Regions from separate parts of the Homo sapiens genome. Here region 2 is linked to region 1. Evidence: promoter capture Hi-C in 16 types of primary human blood cells and fetal thymus (Javierre and others, 2016). All regions are on one chromosome and are shown on one strand. Each heading gives the region's core, a stretch centred on a gene start or on the middle of the fragment in contact. The rest is flanking DNA. Distances are from core to core; before and after follow the strand shown. Region 1 holds the start of CUBN (cubilin). Region 2 overlaps CUBN (cubilin).

Evidence for each region. The method cuts DNA at HindIII sites, captures the fragments that hold promoters and counts their contacts. A CHiCAGO score of 5 or more calls a contact.
Region 2: a fragment that was not itself captured here is called in contact with the fragment with the promoter of CUBN in region 1 in 12 of 17 cell types (activated CD4 T cells, total CD8 T cells, M1 macrophages and 9 more); the score reaches 12.2 in activated CD4 T cells.

The regions. Positions count from the first base shown.
Region 1 is chr10:17,127,434-17,131,827 of GRCh38, reverse strand. It overlaps CUBN (cubilin), which reads left to right and starts at 2,017. Exons shown (of 67, transcript NM_001081.4): 1 at 2,017-2,184; 2 at 2,578-2,707; 3 at 3,904-3,999. The coding sequence starts at 2,063. The HindIII fragment of the contact is 5,551 bases long and covers 1-4,394 here.
Region 2 is chr10:16,856,099-16,860,375 of GRCh38, reverse strand. All of the region lies in intron 59 of CUBN (cubilin), which reads left to right. Among named protein-coding and RNA genes, the nearest start is that of RSU1, 41 kb to the right of the region's middle. RefSeq lists a silencer at 3,930-4,130. The HindIII fragment of the contact is 1,463 bases long and covers 2,078-3,540 here.

The DNA.
Region 1 (4,394 bases), core at 768-3,267:
GAATATATGAGCTCTTACAATCAATAAAAGACAAACAACAAAATTTTAAAAAATAGGCAAAATATCTAAACAGACAGTTCACCGAAGAAGATAAACAAATGGCAAATATACATAAAAAGATGCCCAACATCTTTGGTCATTAGGGAAATATAAATTAAAATTGTAATGAGATACCTATGTTGACACAAAGACCTGTTCACAAATGTTCATAACAGCTTTATTTATAATAGTCCCAAACTGGAAATAACTCAAGTGTTTATCAACTGATGAGTAGAGAAGCAAACTGTGGGATAGCCATATGATGAAATACTACTCAATAATAAAAGGGAACCAATTAATGATATACACTACAGCACAGATGAATTACAAAAGCATTATGTTGAGTGAAAGAAGCAGATACAAGAGACATATAGAAGAAATTGGGAAGGTTTAAAAAAAATTTTTAAAAGCAGTGACTATTTGAGTATCACAAGTAAAGTTTTTTTTTGTTTTGTTTTGTTTTTGAGACGGCATCTCGCTCTGTCCCCCAGGCTGGAGTGCAGTGGCATGATCTCAGCTCACTGCAAGCTCCGCCTCCCGGGTTCACGCCATTCTCCTGCCTCAGCCTCCCGAGTAGCTGGGACTACAGGCGCCCGCCACTAAGCCCGGCTAATTTTTTGTATTTGTAGTAGAGACGGGGTTTCACCACGTTAGCCAGGATGTTCTCGATCTCCTGACCTCGTGATCCGCCCGCCTCGGCCTCCCAAAGTGCTGGGATTACAGGCGTGAGCCACCGCGCCCGGCATAAGTAAAGAATTATAAGCTATGGTACATAATGATCCTCTCCTCAAAGAGCCTACATAAGTAAGACACAAAATAAGTAAAACACAAACAGGCTTGTCCTGAAAGAGCCTGCATGGGTATTAACCAATGCAATGGTAATTACCTAGAGATTTTTCTTAGAAGTGAAATTTTTACAGCTCTCCCTCAAATTCAGTTTTGTCTGTGTGCTCATGGAAAGTCTGAGTGCATCAATAGTTGATTTTACAATCGAAATGTAGAATATTTTCATCACTCTCAGTGGTTTCTGTAGTCCCAGCACAGAGTGAGTGGGGACATCAGTGCTCCATGTCCTCAAACCATATATCCAGCTGGAAGGGTGTATAGCGCAGTGTGGAAAGTGGGAATGGATTCCACAGCCGTCCATAGGTCCCACAGGGATGATAAAAAGTAAAAAGTACAAATTCTTTGTACATTCTGGATATTAACCCATTTTCATATATATATGATTTGCAAATATTTTCTTCCATTCTGGGAGTTGCTTTTTCACTCTGTTGATGTATTTTTTGATGCACAAACGTTTTTAATTTTGATGTATTCCAATTTATATCTTTTGGTTGTCTGTGTGTTTTTCTTTTTTTGCCCATGCTTTTGGTATCATACTCAAGAAATCATTGCCAAATCCAAAATCCAAGGTCATGAATTTTTGTCCTATTCTTCTGAGTTTTATGTTATAGTTTCAGATTTTTTGAACCATTGTGAGTTAATTTTATAGTTTTAGCTCTTAGATTTAGATCTTTGAACTTTTTTGAGTTAATTTTTGCATATGGTATGAGGTAAGCCTCCAACTTCTTTTGCATGTGGATATCTAGTTTTCCTAGCGCTGGGTAAAGGTGGAACTCCTCTGCAAGGGAGGTGAGGAAGGAGGGGAACAGAGAAAGGTGTAGATAATGACCAGTTTACTTTTGTTGAAACCTAGTTACTTCTTAAGCAAAGATTGTTTAAGTGGATGTTTTCAAAGCTGCTTGTTACTGTTTCAAAGGTCAAATAGATAATGATTAAGTTGCGCATCACTTAAGGTAGATTTTGACCTCTCACAAGTTGAAGAGTACTGAAGATCTAAGATCATTTACATCCCTCTGGAAGAAAAAATAACATAGCCTTCTAGGGCAAAGAAGAAAAAACTCAACAGTTACAGGATATTCCATGGTTCAAAGTACACCTGCCTGGTTTGCTGTTCTCCAAAATCCCATGCTCAGTTGGTTGGAGTGGCCTCACTCTTACCTGCCAACCTGGGAGGTTGATGATGAACATGTCTTTACCTTTTCTTTGGAGTTTGCTTACCTTATTAATATTTGCTGAAGTAAATGGCGAAGCTGGAGAACTTGAGCTGCAGAGACAAAAAAGAAGCATCAATCTCCAACAGTAAGTAAACACATGGGTCATTCCTGCTCAGGGACTAGGCTAATTCCTCACCAGTTTTCCCAAATAGCCAGATAAACAAAGGTGCAATTTTTCTTGAGGAAAATTATGTTGAGAAGCAAACAGGGAAAAACATTTAGACTGAGGTATGAAATTACTTTCCTATGCACAAATTATTATCTGTCATTTTGCAAATAATCTGTTTGCAATTGCCAGGAGGTATCTCTGAGAAATGTGCAGAGAAAAAAGTGGCAGATGAGCAGGGGCAGTTGGGTTGAGATGATCAAAAAGTGAAGATGTATTTGGCCTGTAGTTATTCAGTAAGAAACTTTGTTATTTTGGTTTAAAAATTGTACTTGCTAATTACTGATGCATTCTCTCGTTTGAATTATATAGGCCTCGAATGGCTACAGAGAGAGGAAATTTGGTGTTTCTTACGGGGTCTGCTCAAAACATTGAGTTTAGAACCGGATCCCTGGGAAAAATTAAATTAAATGATGAAGATCTCAGTGAGTGTTTACATCAGGTAATACACTGGAAATATATTGAAGTCATTTTGTATATCCATATACGGTGACTTAATTGAACAAGTCTAGATTAATCTGTACCTTGAATCTTTTTTAATTATTATTTTTTATTAATACATAATTTGATACATTCCTATAATGTGTAAAGTTCAAATCAGGGTAATTGGGATATCCATCACCTTAAATATTTACCTTTTCTTCATGCTAAGAACATATGAATTGTTCTCTTCTAGTTATTTTGAAATGTACAATAGATTAATGTTAACTATAGTCACCCTACTGGTCTATCAAACACTAGGTCTTATTTCTTCTATCTAACTATATATTGTATTCATTAATCAACCTGTCTTCAGCCTCCCTCCCCCTTCCTAGTGTACCTTGAATCTTTAGCATAGAGAACATAATTGGGCATCAGACATGTTCTTGTAAAGGACGATGGCCTGGGGTTAATAGTGGGTAGAGGGAGTATGCTAAAAGATAGAAGCTCATTGTGCCAGACAATGCACCCTAGTCCAGAGAAGGCACGGAGGGTGGAACTGAAACTCCTCCACAGGGGATGCGAGGAAGTAGGGGACCAAGGATATGTGGACATGTGACCAGTTTGCTTTTGCCACAGAACAGAATTGGCCAGTTATTCTCCTGCCTTACTGGGTGTTTTCATTTCCCAATAATCACTGCATATTTCAGTCATAATGTTAGAAGTCAGCATTATTCAGAGCTTACTGTGGGCCATCCACTGTGCTTAGCACCGTATGGATGTTATCTCATTTGACCTTCACAGCTGTCCTATGAGGTGGCCTTTATTGTCACCCTAGTTTTACAAGAGGTAAAGAAACCCTGAAGCAGTTAGGTAACTTGCCCAGGACAGCAATAAATAGCTGAGCCAGGACTTAAAACCTAAACAGTCTGCTTCCAAGCCAGGTTTCTTAATAAGCACCCTAAACTGGTATTATAGGAAAACATACAAATGGAAAATACCTTGATCTATTGTTACTGAAAAGGATAAGTGGAATTATGCTGTGGCTATTTTAGCCCAGTGTTTATTACGCATGGTGTTGTTTTGGTTTTTATAATAATAGGCAAGATCTTAGTGCTTAAAGTAGAATACTACTCAAGTTTTTAATTATGTTACTGTAAAGATAAATATGATATTTTCACTAGTGCTCTTCATTTCTTCTTCTTTTTCTAAAATTAGATCCAGAAAAACAAAGAAGATATTATAGAGTTAAAAGGGAGTGCAATTGGTCTGCCTCAAAATATATCTAGTCAAATCTATCAGCTTAATTCCAAGGTAAGTCTGACATCTACGTCATAAGAACCGATGAGTTCTCCCTAGTTCTATTGTATAAGTAACCGTTTTGTAGGGGATATACCAACTTTGTGTGCTCTTTAGAGATTTAGCATGTAACTACTCACTGTTTGGTTAAATGACACAGCTGTAATGGAGGCTGTAGAAGTGATGGACAGAAGGCAGGAAATGCTGTGCAAGCACTTGTTGCAGAAGTAGGCCTTGGGCTGGGAGCAGTGGCTCACTGCAAGTGAATGGATGATTAATATAAAAAACTGCCTGTAATCCCAGCAGTTTGGGAGGCCACAGAGGGAGGGTCGCTTGAGCCTAGGAGTTTGAGACCAGCCTGGGCCACATAGTGAGACTCCGTCTCTACCAAAAAAAAAAAAAAAAAAAAA
Region 2 (4,277 bases), core at 1,560-4,059, 270 kb after region 1:
AATTTCTACTTGTTCTGATTTAGTATAACTTCCATAGCTTTCTTTTGATTCATATTTGCGTGATATGTTTTTAAACCCTTTTATTTTCAACTTGTCTCTATCCTGAAGAATATATTTGGCTTTTGTTTGGCTATGCCTTTCTATTGAAGAATTTAATGTGTTTATATCTGATAAAATTACTAACAATATTAGTTTTAGATAGACCTTTGTACTATTTGTGTTTTGTTTGTCCCACTTCTTTTTGTTTTCCTTTAACTATCTTTTCTTTTTAAAATTAATCACTTTTTTATTACTCCCCTTTTAAAATTATTATTTATACATCCTGTGACTCTTGTTTCAGTAGTTACCTTAGAGATTACAGTATTCAACCTTAATATGTTAGAATCTAATTTAAAGTTGATACTTTTATCATGTTATAATCAATAATCAATCCAAGGACCTTGGAACATTTTAAACCCACTTACCCACTTCCTGTCTTTTGTGCTATCTATGCCAAGTATTTTAATTCTACGTACATAATAGGTACACAAAACATTTTTATTGTTTTATACAATTACTAATAATGTAAAATTACCCTTGCTGTTATTTTTCTTTTCTTCCTGAAATTCTATGCTTCCATATGGGATTAATGTATTTCTTTTGGAAGACCTCTCTTTTATGTTTCTTTCATTGGAGATCTTCTGGTAAAAAGTGTTCTTTGTTTTTGTTTTTCGAAAATGACTTGATTTTCTTAAATTCTGTGGGATTCTTGCTCTGAGTATAGAGTTCTAATTTGGCATTTATTTTCATTCAGGACTTTACGATGCTATTCCATCATGCTCTGGCTTGTATTATTTTGATTAGGAAGCCATTGCTTTCTATAACTGGGGACCCCCATCCCTCCCCTGGTCATCTCATTGTAGAGTACTGTTATTGTTGCTGTTGTTGTTATTTAATTTTATTTTAGCCATTCTGGTAGGTGTGTATTAATATCTCATGTGATTTTAATTTAATGGTGAACAATTTTCACGTGCTTTTCGTCATCTATATATCTATTCTCTGGTGAAATATCTATTTATATCTTTTACCCATTTTCTAATTGAATTGTTTATTTTTCTATTGTTGGGTTTTGAGAGCTTTTTATCTATTCTCAATCAATGATCCTTTGTCAGTATGTGGTTTGCAAATGTTATTTCCCAGTCTATATCTTGCCTTTTAATTTTCTTGCCTTATATTGGCCTTTCACTGAACAAAAGTTTTTAATGTTGAAGTTCAATTTATCGACTTTTTCTTTTATAGATCATGTTTTTGATACCAAGTCTAAGAATTCTTTGCCTACCCCAAGGTCCCAGAGATTATTCTGGTGTTTTCTTTTAAAAGTTTTATGATTTTACATTTTTCATTTGTGTCTATGATCCATTTTGAGCTCATTTTGGTTTAGATATGAGATTTAGGTGGAAGTCAGTTTTTTGCCTCTGGATGTCCAATTGCTCTAGCACCATTGGTTGAAAAGGCTGTCCTTCCTTCATTGAATTGCATTGGCACATTTGAAAAAAATCAGTTGGACATATTTGTATAGGTCTATTTCTGGGTTCTGTATTCTATTCCATTGATTATGTGTCTAACTCCTCACCAATATCACACTGTCTTGATTACTATAGCTACATGGTAAGCCTTAATATCAGGTGGAGTGATTCATCCCACTTCATTTTTCTTTGTGAAGTTGTTTTAGCTATTTGAAGGCCTGTGCCTTTCCATATAAATTTTAAAATAAAGGCTGGGGGCAGTGTCTCATGCCTGTAATCCCGGAGCTTTGGGAGACCAAGGTGGGAGGATCCCTTGAGGCCAGGAGTTCAAGACCAGCCTGGCCAATAATAGCAAGACCCTGTCTTCACCAAAAATAACAAAATTAGCCAGGCATGGTGGCATTTGCCTGTGGTCCTAGCTAACTGGGAGGCTGAGGTAGGAGGATCCCTTGAGCCCAGGAGTTCAAAGTTGCAGTGAGCTGTGATCACACCACTGCACTCCAGTCTGGGTGACAGAGCAAGCCTCTATCCTAAAAAAACGTAAATAAATAAAAATAAAAATAAGTTAAGCTTTTTGATGTTTGCAGAAAAACCTTGCTGAGATTTTTATAGGAATTGCATTAAATCTATCCATCAATTTGGGGAAAACTGATGTCTTTACTATGTTGAGTTTTCCAATCCATGAACATATATGTATCTAGACTTATTTAGGCCTTCTTTTATTTATTTCATTATTTTGTAATTTTCATCACATAAGCCTGTATCTGCTTCATTAAGTATATACCTAAATATTTCATTTTTTTGTAATGATTATAAATGGTATTGTTTTTTAATTTTGGTCTCCACATGTTAATGGTTAGTATATTAAAATTTGATTGATTTTTGTGTATTGTTCCTTTATCCTGAGTTCTTGCTGAACTCATATGTTAGTTCTAAGAATGTTTTTCCATATTACTTGGGATTTTCTGCAGCTAATAGTTACTTGCAAAAGTGGAAATTTTATTTCTTCCTTTCCAGTCTCTCTATATATTTTTTCTTGCTTTATTCTGGCAAGAATTCTAATACTACGCTGAGTTAGAGGGGTGTGAAATCAATATCGTTGCCTTGTTCCTGATCTTAGGGAGAAAGCGTTTAGTATTTCACCATTAATTATGCTGTTAGCTGTAGGTTTTTGCAGATGGTTTTTATCAAGTCAAGAAATTTCTCCTCTATTCCTAGTTTGCCAAGAGTTTTTATCATGAATGTGTGTTGGATTTTGTCAAATCCTTTTTCAGCATCAACTGACATGATCATGTCATTTTGCTTAGTAAATTATTTTTTTAATTTCCAAGTTGGAAAGAATGATTCTCATAAAATGCCCTGGGGCTAATGATGTATGCATAGAGCATTTTCAGTGATATCTAAATAATGCAAGATAAATTAAAAGATAACGATAAAATTTTCCTTCTCCTAAGTTCTTTATACAAGTATTGCTCTTTTTCTATTAACTACAGCTACTGATTAGCTTGCTGAAATTACCTTTCTTTTAGTAAATTACCATTCTTTTAGTTTTATGATTCCTAAATATTACCAGACTAAATACACATTTTAATTTAGATTAAGCTGGGTTTCAAATTAGGATAACTAAAGTGAGTCAAATTAAGTGAAGCAACTAAAAACAAACAAAACAATAAAAAACCTCATTACAAAAACTACTAACTTTTTTCTTGTAAAACATAAATATTATACCTGAAGTATTGTACACATTGGAGATTAGGGAGTAAAATAATAAACACTGTTTACTTTTAGAGAAAAAGACAAAACAGGTTCGTCTGAAACCTAGTAGAATGTTTTTACATGAATACACTGCTTTGGAGCAATTGTGTATCTGCAGCTTTATAAATTACAGTAAGGCTGATTCCAAAAAAGGATAATGCATTTCTAGCCCTGCATCCCTGGGTGGTAGAAAGGAAGCTGTCTAGGTGTGCTCGAATTTCCCTAAGGCACCAGCTTTAAATGTCTTTGTATTCTGCTTCCTGTAGTTTCCAGTAAAGCTTCCTTCAGCTGCAGCCTAAAGCCACAGATGGCTTGCTGGAAACAGGAGAGGGCCTGAAGTCAAGCCAGTCTGTATCTGCTCGTACAGCACACTGTGCACCTTCTCAGTAGTGGTCAACCAGAGACAGGCAGAGATACTATCCAGACAACCTCAGGAAAATGTCAGCCGTATAGAATGTGAGCCACAAAAATGTCAATTCTCCAAATAATGATTTAAAAATGTATCTAACTCCACTGAAGCCTTCGAGATGTTTTATCCAAGAGAATGTAACTATTTTTTCCCTTATCAGATTGATCTTGGCTTAAGCTTCACTCTGAGGTTTAGTCATTGGAAGGTAATAATTCAGGATTCGGTTACCGATTTTTAATTAAGTAGATTTAGACCTGGATCTCACTCCTTATTATGGGGTTATATTTCCAATATTTCTTTAGCCAAAACATGTATTTTCTCTGAAGAAATGGCTCTTTTGTGTGAGAGAGATATTTCCAATTCAGGGAAGAAAGAGTGACGTTTGTTCTTGGACGCAGGGTGTGTCATCAGAGAGTGACTGACACACCTGATTGATGAGGCAGGTGCTGATGGATGAGAGCTGTCTAGGTGGCCCCAAAATGTGTAGTAATGAGGAAATGATGGATTGGTGATGCTAAACATATCAAGGTTAAGATGGCTTATACATTAAAAAATGCAATTTCAAAATATCAGTATGGTAAATATATATGACTTTCTGATGCGTGGGA